Linked DNA regions of Homo sapiens: region 2 is linked to region 1. Evidence: promoter capture Hi-C in 16 types of primary human blood cells and fetal thymus (Javierre and others, 2016). All regions are on one chromosome and are shown on one strand. The core of a region is centred on a gene start or on the middle of the fragment in contact, and the rest is flanking DNA. Distances in the headings are between cores, read along the strand shown.

Region 1 (5,695 bases), core at 2,963-5,462:
TACCTACCTTCAGTATTACAGAATCATAATAAAATCATAAAGCTCTAAATCTCCAACAGGAAAACTGAGAGATAAACATGAGCTGTTATTTTCCAGCCTCCGTTCGCTTCCCTCTGGGCTAACCCATACTAAGGCCTTTACCTGTCTTTCCGGATATTTTGGCCAGCCTGGTCACCGCCCTCTTCCTCAGCATCCTTCTGGTCATCCTTGCTCTCTTCCCAGTCCTTGTAGGAGGAGACTTTGGACTTCTTCTTGTCCTCCCCATCGTCCTTCTCCTCTCGCTCTCTCCGTTTCAGGGAAGCCAGCAAGTCCAGTCCGAGTAATGAAGGGCGGGGAGCAGGAGCCTTGAAGACATGCTGCTCGCTGGCCGCACTTTTGGACTTGCAAATAAGACCACCAACCTGACAGTCCAGATCAGTGCCTTCCAATCGATGGATCGAGGCATCCTCACTGGTGTCCCCCATCACAGGATCTGGGATTTCTCTGGAAGGAAGGCAAACCATTTGGTACTAGAGAAGGCTCAGCTCTACTATATCCCACAATAAATGCAGTTATGGTTATATGTAGGTGATTAACCTTCCCCATCTCCCCTTAAGACCAGGACTACTTTTGCTCCCTCTCTCCAAGACCTTTCCATCAAGTCACTGCCTATCTCCAAAGATTCTCCTATTCCAACCCCCAATAAACACCAAAATAGATACACACACACACACACACACACACACACCCCATACATTCCTCCCCAGCCCCCACAAAGATCCAAGAGGCAATAAAAAGTCTCACTAAGGGACACTTTCTAGAGCCTGATGTCAGCAGCTGTAACAGGGATGTAGGGAAAACACCACTAAATTTGAATCAGAAACCTCAATTAGAAACCAGGCTCTTGACACTTTCTACCTGTATGATGGTAAGCAAATAACTTAATCTTTGTTTAGCCATAATTTCATATCTATTAAATGGAAAAAATTTTTACCTTATCTAATCCATGAAGCTATTGTGAGAATCAAACAAAAAGTGTATGTGAAACCATAAAGAGTAGCTCTTTATGTAACCATAACAGTTAACATAAATGTAACTGCTACATTGTATTATTTGCTATCCTCCTATATACTGTTGGTCCCTCACCCATTTTTTTACATGAGTTCTACCTCTTCCTCTCTTTAAACAACAGGTACAGCAGCACAGAGATGGGGCAGAAGGCTACCGTCCATGTTCTCCATACTTTAGTGGCTTTTCTTGGCCTAGCTGCGTTTTACAGAAAACAATTTACTCACAGCAGCCAAAATCAGTTTAATAACAATCCATGTTCACCAAAAATATTTATGAGAAACACCAGGTTAGGAAAAGGTGTTACTGAGAAGTATTTAAGTGGCTACAAGACTTCTGGCACTCAAGTTGGAACAAGCTCCTCTTTACCTCTCACTACACATCTGCCACTCATCAACATATATCAGTTCTGGATGCTTGGATAATTCCTCTCATTCCAACAAGTTAGCAAAGCAAAGGAGATGCCACCAGAATCCAGAATTGTTTACCAAACTCTAATTAAATGCACAGCTCTACAGAGTATTGCCAAACAGACTGGACACATAATATTAATGCAGAAACAAGAGTTACATTTTGAAAATGCCATCAGGCAGAACAGAAAAAAAGAAAGCTGCATATTGGTGACATCTGTGCGCATGTGAGGAAATCCACACAAGAAGGTAAAGATATACAGGCTCTACTCAATAGTTGTCTAAACTAGGAAAGGTACCCTGGACTGCCATTCTACGCAGTTGAGAGAACACTGGATGTGTTGTTGACTGCTGTAGCTCAATGTCTAGCAAAATAAGCGTTTGATAAATTAAAAAATGAATTAATTTAAACTTATTAAAGGAGGACAGGAACCCAAACATTTCTGGAGACAGCAAGGGAAGATTCCAGCAACACAGGACAAGGAGACAGCCAGAGAGAACTTCATTAGCTGCTGAGACGAACAAATAAGGAGCTAAAGAGCAAGATTCTTGAGAAGGATTAATGGCAAAGAAACTACAAGGCGTACGAGAAAGCCAGGGAAGAAAGAACCTGGATTCATTCATTCAACAATTATTCACTGAGGGTGTCCCTGAGCCAATTGCTGTTCTCGGCGATAGCAACAGAGAACAAGACAAAAATCCCCGCCCACCTGGAGCTGACATTCTAGTAGAAGAGATCGCCCACCAGATTGCCTGGTATAAATGACACTGTGAGAGAGCAGAGGAAGACACAAGGAGTCCTACTCGGGCTCGGTGACAGTCTGGGGTGGGTTAAAGCGGAGGCCTGGGAGAGGGACCAAGGCCACTCCAGGCAGCATCCCTGGATCTCAGCGAGGCCGCTCCAGGCAGCAGGATTTGACCAGAGCAAGGAGGAAGGCCAAGGCGGCCAGGACGGATGCAGCATCCCTGAGGTGAGTAAGGCAAGGTGGGTGACAGGGACGACAGAGGAACTCCCCAAACTGGGGCCCGGACCTGAGCAGGGGACCAATATCCGCCGCCTAGAGCCGCCATGATTACAGAAGGGCAGGCCAGGAAGGAAGAAGGGACTCTCACCTCACCAAGCGCGACTCTTGGGACCCTTCTGTCCCGGATTCTGGGGCGCCGGCGCTGCCACCCCTCGCTCAGACAGGCTCAAGGAGCCAAAATCCACACCTTGAAAGCGGCCATTATTGTCCCTTAATACTTTGCGCGCCCCCTCTATCCGCCCAAAGCTACCATAGAGAGCAGCCTGGAACACGCCCGATTCCTGGATCCAAGTGTGGAACGGTACGCCAACAGGCTCTCAAGGCCTCCTCTGGGGCTCTGATCAGACACTTCCGAGTCTCCTTGTGACCAATCACTCTTAGCCTAAGAGACTACATCCCGCCTCTAGTCTGGGGGCAGGAAAAGGAGGGGAAAAAGGTCGACCATCTTTAATACGGGCGGAGGTGACGCCTAGCTTCCGGTCAGAGCCGAGCAAGGTGGGCGGTGACTAGAAGCTCTTCCGTTTATTGGGCTGTTGAGCGGGGGCCGACCGACGGCCAGGAGTTTCTTTTCTGCGCTTGTGCGTTTTCTGTTCGGTTTCCTTCCCGCTAGCGGGGCCACGAGGGTTGCTAGGCAACAGCCCCTGGGTGACTTGGTCTTAGGGTCCTGTCCGGCTTGGGGCTGATGAAAGGAGCTGTCCGCGCCCGGGCTCTTCCGAGAAGTGGTTGCTGACAGCCACAAAGTGAAAGGGAGTGAGGCGGCGTGGACGAGTAAGGTAAGTGCTGGGGTCCCTTAGCGCTTGTGGGCCAGGAGCAGCGCAACACAGGTGACTTTAAATATGTATATCGGATATTTTGGAAAATGGAGATGCGCGCCCGGCTGTAAATAAAAATCACCCATGCGTTCACACGCAGAGATGACCACTGATTTCCAGTTGTTTTTCTGGAATACATTGTAGTAAGATTCTGTACAAAAGTGAGTTCAAGCTTTTTTTCTTTTTTTGGTGTTTCTGCAGTTGTGGCGCGCGCCTGAGGTTCCAGCTACTCGGGAGGCTGAGGCGGGAGGATTGCTTGAGCCTGGGGAGTTGAGACCAGCCTGGGCAACATAGCGAAACCCCGCCTCAGAAAAAGAGAGGGAGAGAGGAAAGCAGTGGAGTTATTGGTCAAAGAGTATGTCAGTTTTCTTTCCAGAAAGGTTTTGTGTCTGCATTCCAGCAGGAACTCCCTGTGCCTGCCCCTACCACTATCTTGTTTAATTTTTGCCAATTCAGTGACTTTGTAAACATATGTTTTAATTTGCTTTTCTTTGCTTACTGGTAAAGCTTAACTTTTTAGTTTATTTACTGTCCATTTGTACGTCTTCTTTTGGGAATTCTCTGTGGGTATCATTTACTATGGACATTTTCTTAGATGTGGTCTCAGTTTTCCTCTCCTGCTTCCAACGTTTGTCCAGTTGCACCCCTAGCCTCACCACTAACAACTTTGTTCTCCCCTTACTTTCTCCTTTCGATCAGTAACACGGAGGAACTGCTGTTTGTTTGAATTCTAGTGGGACAGATCCGTCTTCTCTTTGACCTTCCCTTTCATTGGTAATTTGTTCTGCTGCTCACATCTGATGACGTCCCTTTGGGCCATCAATGTCCCTGTTTAAAGTATGACCTATAGCTGGAACAATCTTATTTCCTATGTGAATTTTAGTTAAATAATTCCTTTTTTTTTTTTTGGAGACGGAGCTTCGCTCTTGTTGCCTTGCCCAGGCTGGAGTGCAGTGGAGCGATCCTAGCTCACTGCAACCTCCGCCTCCAGGGTTCAAGCAATTCTCCTGCCTCAGCCTCCTGAGTAGCTTGGATTACAGGTGGCATCTGCCACCACGCCCGGCTAATTTTTTGTATTTTTAGTAGAGACGGGGTTTCACCATGTTGGCCAGGCTGGTCTCGAATTCCTGGCCATAGGTGATCCACCCTCCTTGGCCTCCCAAAGTGCTGGGATTACAGGGGTGAGCCTGGCCTAATTCGTATCTTAAAATGTGACTTGTGACAAAAAAAATAGGAAAAGAAATCCTCCCTTTTCATATTTGGAACTGAATTCAAAATACCGACCATCTCAATGGAGTCTCTTATAGATGACCACAAAACTAAGCTTCTTTGTCAAAGAGTTTCTCAAAAATGAAATTTCTACCAATCATGAAAATAGATTATTGTAGTAGAAGGACCCCTGGACTAGAAATTTGGTGGCCTGTATTCTAGTCCTTGTCATTGTAGTAGAAAGTGCAACTGTAAGCAAGCTAGTTTGTAAAATGACGGGGTTGTATTAGGTCCCTTGTACCTCAGTATTTTATTATTTGTTTATGGTATTGTAGTTTTCACACACACTCTTAATTGATCTGTTTGCCGTGTAATGAGGTGCACCTAGTAAGGTGCACACGAAGAATCTTTAAGCCAGGACTTGTAATAATATAAAGTATACAATAAAGGACTGTTTAAAAAGTGTAACACATGCAAGAAATAATATGCTGCCATGACAGAGAATATGGATGTTCTCTATATAGAGATATGGGGCAATCTTCATAGGTTAGGTTTGAAATAATGAAAAGTGCTGAAGAGTAGATAAAGTGTGTGTGCTGAACATCTGCCATTGGTCCCTCCACAGCCATTCTTCATCCTCCTCTAGACTGCTCTGGGACAGGGAGGTTTGCCTGCCTCAACAGGCCCCTGCCCTCTGGTTCCAGTTGGAGTCAGCCGGTGGTTGCATGAGCAAAGGTCAGAGGGAGGGAGGAGAGTGGCTGCAACACCTAACAGCAGGCTGCCCTCCTATACACTGTCCTCTCCACTCACCTCTTTCTGCCACACAATTCTTATAACTGCTTCCTACCGTGGCTTCTTCCTCCCATGGCCTAGGGATGGGTACAGCATCCCGCTGTTACTAGCCCCAAAGTAGTACACTTTACCGTATTGTTTTTCTACACCTGCCTTAATTAAACTGCCTTCAAATTACCAAAGTTGAGAGTGTCATCGCTTTCCTGCTGGAACACTGATACAATAGGCTATCTTTTGGGGGTGGGGAGAGAGAGAAAAAAAATATCGGAACGCATATTTGTATTTTTTGGTGAATGCATAACAAAACTCTGAAAGATACATGAGAAACTAATGAAAGCAGTTATCTGGCCCGGGGGAGGGAACAATGAAAACTGGTTCCAAGGAGCAGGGACAAAGAGAG
Region 2 (5,599 bases), core at 1,832-4,331, 2.6 Mb before region 1:
ACAGCCTGGCAACAGAGGGAGACTCCGTCTCAAAAAAAAAAAAAAGAAAGAAAAAGAAAAGAAGAAAGAATAATAATGGCTTTGATGTTATGCCTAAGAATTCTTCGCCTAGCCTTAGGTTCTGAAGATTTTCTTCTACATGTTCTACAAGTTTTTTTTTTTTTCAAATGTTTGTGATTTTTTTTTTCAAATGGCAACTCCAAGATAAAGCCAAAGAAACTGGGAATTATTTTTAATATTGTACAATTTTTAGTATGAATAGCCATTCTTATTAAATAGACTCATTTGGCCAGGCAAGGTGGCTCAAGCTCGTAATCCCAACACTTTGGGGGGCCAAGGCATGAGGATTGCTTGAGTTCAGAAGTTCAAGATCAGCCTCAGCAACACAGGGAGACCTCTGTCTCTACTAAAAATAAAAACATTTTAAAGGGCTCATTTAAACTTTTTTCTTTTCTTTTTTTTTTTTTTTTTTTTTGAGACGGAGTCTCACTCTGCCACCCAGGCTGGTGTGCAATGGCGCGATCTCGGCTCACTGCAAGCTCCGCCTCCTGGGTTCACATCGTTCTCCTGCCTCAGCCTCCCGAGTAGCTGGGACTACAGGCACCCGCCACCACATCCGGCTAATTTTTTTTTGTATTTTTAGTAGAGATGGGGTTTCACCGTGTTAGCCAGGATGGTCTTAATCTCCTGACCTCGTGATCCGCCCACCTCGGCCTCCCAAAGTGCTGGGATTACAGGCGTGAGCCACTGCGACCGGCCCTAAACTTTTTTCAAACATTTACATTTTCTCAACAGGAAATGTCCTTTCATTCTGCACAGTTCTCTCTGCTTTCTTCTAAAAGGTTCCTTGTTTTACATTTTACATTTAAATCTCTGATCCATTCAGGCAATTTTTGCATAGAATATGAGGTTTAGGTGAAGTTCATTTTTTTGTTCAGTTACTCCACCACCATTTGAACACCACCTATCTGGCAAAGGATTAATATCTAGAATATTTAAACTCTCAAAACTCAAGTTTTTTAAAAAGAATTCAACTAAAAATGGGCAAAAGACATGGACAGACATTTCACCAATGAGGCTATACAGATGGCAAACAAGCACATGAAAACATGTCCATCATCACCAGGCACTAAAGAAATGCCAATTAAAACCATGATGAGACCAGGCGCAGTGGCTCATGCCTATAATCCCAGCACTTTGGGAGGCCAAGGTGGGTGGATCACCTGAGGTCAGGAGTTCGAGACCAGTCTGGCCAATATGGCGAAACGCTGTCTCTACTAAAAATACAAAAAATAGACAGGTGTGGTGGTGCACGCCTGTAGTCCCAGCTACTTGGGAGGCTGAGGCTGGAGAATCGCTTGAACCCAGGAGGTGGAGGTTGCAGTGAGCTGAGATGGCGCCACTGCACTCCAGCCTGGGCAACAGAGTAAGACTCTATCTCAAAACAAAACAAAACAAAAAACCATGATGATATATCACTATTCACCTGTTAGAATAGCTAAAAATTCAGGCAGGGACAAAATAAAATGCTGCTGAGGATGCAGAGAAACTGAATGTCTTGTACATTGATGGTGGGACAGTAAAAAAAAAAAAAAAGAAAAGAAAAGAAAAAAACTTCCAAAAGGTTATACATTGTATGATTTTGTTTATAGCAGATCAGTATACCCATCCTGCAGCTGCTATGAGTGTTGACAGCTAAACACTCACACAGCTTCCCCCTCGTCCAGAAGAATTGCCCTGGGCAGAAAGGAGGCTGCCTCTTGTTCCAGACCTTCACATTCCAGACCTCCCCATGGAGCCTCCACTGACTACATACTTGTTTCACTTTTTCTTCCTCTGCCCTATCATACCCACCACTCTCCTAAGAGTCTTCCTTCAATAAATCACAGGCACCTGTGTTACTTGTTGAAGGTGTCCAGGTTCTTGGCATCTTGAACAAAGAAATGGGCAAAATGCACAAAGCAAGGAAAGAATGAGGCAACAAAAGCAGAGATGTATTGAAAACAAAGGTACACTCCACAGGGTGGGAGCCAGCGTGAGCATAGGGGCTCAAGAACTCCGTTACAGAATTTTCTGGGATTTAAATACCCTCTAGAGGCTCCCATTGGTTAATTGGTGTACACCCTATGTAAATGAAGAAGATGAAGTGAAGTTGCTCAGTCACTTACTCAGTGAACGCCATATGTAAATGAAGAAAATATTTCCTGTCATAGCTGAAATGTGTCCATTTTATTTAGTTCTAAGAAGTCAGCGTGAATCAGCTTTATGTTCCCTGCCTGCAGACCCTATTCTCCTGCCTCACCTCAATCTCTTCACCTAAGACAGGAAGAAAACTGATGATGCAGGAGACGAAGAACAATAGCAAGGCGAAGAAATGAATCTCCAAGGCCGGCTTCAAGCGATTCTCCCCTCTCAGGCTCCCGAGTAGCTGGGATTACAGGCATGCACCACCACGCCTGGCTAATTTTTGTATTTTTAGTAGAGACAGGGTTTCCCCATGTTGGCCAGGATGGTCTTGAACTCCTGACCTCAGGTGATCTGGCCACCTCCGCCTCCCAAAGTGCTGGAATTACAGGCATGAGCCACCACACCCAGCTCCCAGTTCTGTTCTTTTAGAGGCAAATAGTCTGTTGAGTAAATGCATAACACTACTTAGACTTTCTAGCTGAAGATGTAGTTAATCTTAAGAAAACCTGACTCACACTGTAACAGGATGTTCTGCAATGACCTTAGAAGAGGAAGTGACTTTTTTCCCACTTTGGTGTCTCTTCCCTCGTACCCTCCCCACCCCGCCAATATTATCCAGCACAGAGAAGCAAACACCAGAAGCTTCTCTCCAACTTTCAGTTTTTCTCTAAACTTCCAGTCCTTCTCATACTGTGTCCTGGTTATAATAGTTGCTGGGACCTTATTCTATTCTGAATCCCCAGCCCCTAAAGAAGGCTTGGTACTGACGTGTACAGCGTAGTTACCCAGTGACTTTGGGGAAGGCAGGAAGAGTGTGGAAAGGACAGGAGGAAGGAAGGGAGGGGCCGTGGCTCCGAGCTGCCTAGAAAGCGGCTCCAGGGAGCCAGGGCACCGTGAGCCTGGTGGTTGGCAGCTGGAGCCACGTCGGAGGGGGAAGTGTCGCAGCATTCTCTGCAGGCATCACAGACCTGAGGCAGTGGCCTCCGGAGGGCACTGGACAGAAACAGCCATCCAAGTGGCTGAGTGGAGGGACCCTGCTCAAGTGCAGCTGCAGTGGCCGGGGTTTCCCTCAGGTAGGGATCGGGGCGCCTTGTCGCCGCCAGCCACGTGTGGCGTCCGGTACAGTCAGCAGAGTGCAGGGTGCGGGCACCAGGAAAGGGGGCGCAGGGGAACTCCCGCGGGCCTCGCGTTTGCAAACTTCTCGCCTGGGCAGGAGGCGGTCGTGGGAAAGAAGGTGGAAGAGCGAGCTTTTTGGAACTGTGCACGGGACAGATTGGACGCACACCCCTCGGGAGGCGCGAAGGTGAGCATGGGGTCTTCCCAGGAGGCGGCGGGGCCGAGGGGCTGCAGCCGAATTCCTGGACGGTGATGGGAAGAACCAGGGGTGAGGGTGGCCCGGTCCGAGTTCCTGGAACTCAGGACCGAGTTGGTTTCATTTCCTCAGCTCTGATGGTGGAGCTGCCTGCTCGGATCTCGCACTACCTTCCGCCAAAGCGAGACGCCCAGTAGCAGTGGGGGTCGTGGAGGGCAGGGGCACGGGAACAAGTTACCTGATGTCTTCTCAGAAAAAGGAAGTCTTCAGGTTTGCAGGCTGAAGGCGTGAGAGAGAGACAGAGTGAGAGAGAGAGAAGAGGGAAATGCCTGATAACCTTTACTTATTTTATTTTATTTTTATTTTTTATTTTTTGGAGGGAAGAGGTGAATTTGCATTGTTATTACCATTTAAAGATTTTTCACTTTTAAAATTAGTAACCTGTTTTCTCATCGTAACATATGAACATAATCCCCTTTTTCTTTTTATTTATTTATTTTGAGAGATGGAGTCTTCCTCTGTTGCCCAGGCTGGAGCGCAGTGGCACAATCATAGCTCACTGCAGCCTCCGAACTCATGGGCTCAAGTGATCCTCCAACCAGATCCTCCCAAGTAGCTAGGACTACAAGGTGCACATCACCACACCCAATTAAATTTTTTTTGTATTTTTTGGTAGAGCCAGGGTCTCGCTTTGTCACCCAGGCTGGTCTCAAACTCCTGGGCTCAGGTGATCCTCCTACCTCACCCTCCCAAAGTGCTGGGATTACAGGTGTGAGCCACTGCAGCTGGCCTGAACATATTCTTAGCTGTTTGTTTTACATATTATAAATAGCACTGCAGTGAACATCTCGGTAGCCATCTATCTACAAACACAAGCTTTTCTACATCATAAGTTCCTAGAAATTCAAATTGCCCAGTCTAAGTGTGTATATATGTATATTCCCTTTCTTCCCTTGTAGATCATATACTTAATAAGACCTTAAACAATTTAAGTTATTGTAGGGTGCTTTTTCCCAATATTTTGCAGTTTTTAATATATTTTAATTTCATACAGGCAAGTCCCCTTTTCTTTATTTTTTAAAATCCTGGTTATCCCTACTAATTTCCCATTTCAAATGAACTTTAGGATCATTTTGATTTAATGCCAAAATATGTCAGTAGATGTTTTATTGGAACTGCATTAAATTGGATTTAAATTTGGGAAGGATTGCTGGGTTGGTCTGTTTTAGTCTTCCCAGCCAGAAATATAACACTTCTCTTTCCTCCTTTCTTCAAGCTTTGTTTTGTGCAATTTTCTTTCTTTCTTTTTTTTTGTTTTTGTTTTTGTTTTTGAGACGGAGTTTTGCTCTGTTGCCCAGGTTGGAGCACAGTGGTGTGATCTCGGCTCAGTGCAACCTCCACCTCCCGGGTTCAAGCAATTCTCCTGCCTCAGCCTCCCGAGTAGCTGGGATTACAGGCGCCTGCTACCATGCTTGGCTAATTTTAGTATTTTTAGTAGAGATGGGGTTTCACCATGTTGGCCGGGCGATCTCAAACTCCCGACCTCAGGTGATCCACCTGCCTCGGCCTTCCAAAGCGCTGAGATTACAGGCATGAGCCAATGTGACCGCTGCAATTTTCTTCATACCATGCCACCACTGTATAATTTATTATTTGAAATTGTTTGTCAGTTCTATGGGTGGGATATTTTCCCCATTTTCCTTTCTGATTAGTTCAGTGCTGAGATATGGCTTTCTGATGAGGCTGCTGGTAAGATAACTGGAGCTTAGAGCTAGGAAGCTACAATTTGCAAGATTCCTTGAACAACATTGCCACATTTGCTTCTGTTTCTGGTGCAACAGAGAAAGTGTAAAACCTTTTGCCCTCACAATTCCCAAGAAATGGCCTTGAAGATATCTGCTTAGCACGTGGGAATAGCTGGGTAGTCTGAGATCCACTAGTCTTTTTAGGAGTGCCCTAATAACTGTTACCTCCCTTGCCCAATCACTGTAACTCTCAGGCAACAAAAACACAACTATATCGATTGCTCATTTATTTAGTTTCACTTCTGCCAGTGCCTTACTCATGTTTTAAAGCCATACTTGGGCTCCAGGCCAATTA

Evidence for each region. The method cuts DNA at HindIII sites, captures the fragments that hold promoters and counts their contacts. A CHiCAGO score of 5 or more calls a contact.
Region 2: the fragment with the promoter of MLKL here is called in contact with a fragment that was not itself captured in region 1 in 2 of 17 cell types (non-activated CD4 T cells and naive B cells); the score reaches 7.2 in non-activated CD4 T cells.

What each region holds. Positions count from the first base shown.
Region 1 is chr16:72,090,927-72,096,621 of GRCh38, reverse strand. It overlaps TXNL4B (thioredoxin like 4B), which reads left to right and starts at 3,002. Exons shown (of 4, transcript NM_017853.3): 1 at 3,002-3,255. DHX38 (DEAH-box helicase 38) reads right to left here and starts at 2,775. Exons shown (of 27, transcript NM_014003.4): 1 at 2,571-2,775; 2 at 142-483. The coding sequence starts at 464. RefSeq lists enhancers at 2,480-2,779, 2,840-2,889, 2,900-3,229. The HindIII fragment of the contact is 817 bases long and covers 3,804-4,620 here.
Region 2 is chr16:74,698,344-74,703,942 of GRCh38, reverse strand. MLKL (mixed lineage kinase domain like pseudokinase) reads left to right here and starts at 3,081. Exons shown (of 11, transcript NM_152649.4): 1 at 3,081-3,490. RefSeq lists an enhancer at 3,178-3,627. The HindIII fragment of the contact is 1,546 bases long and covers 2,832-4,377 here.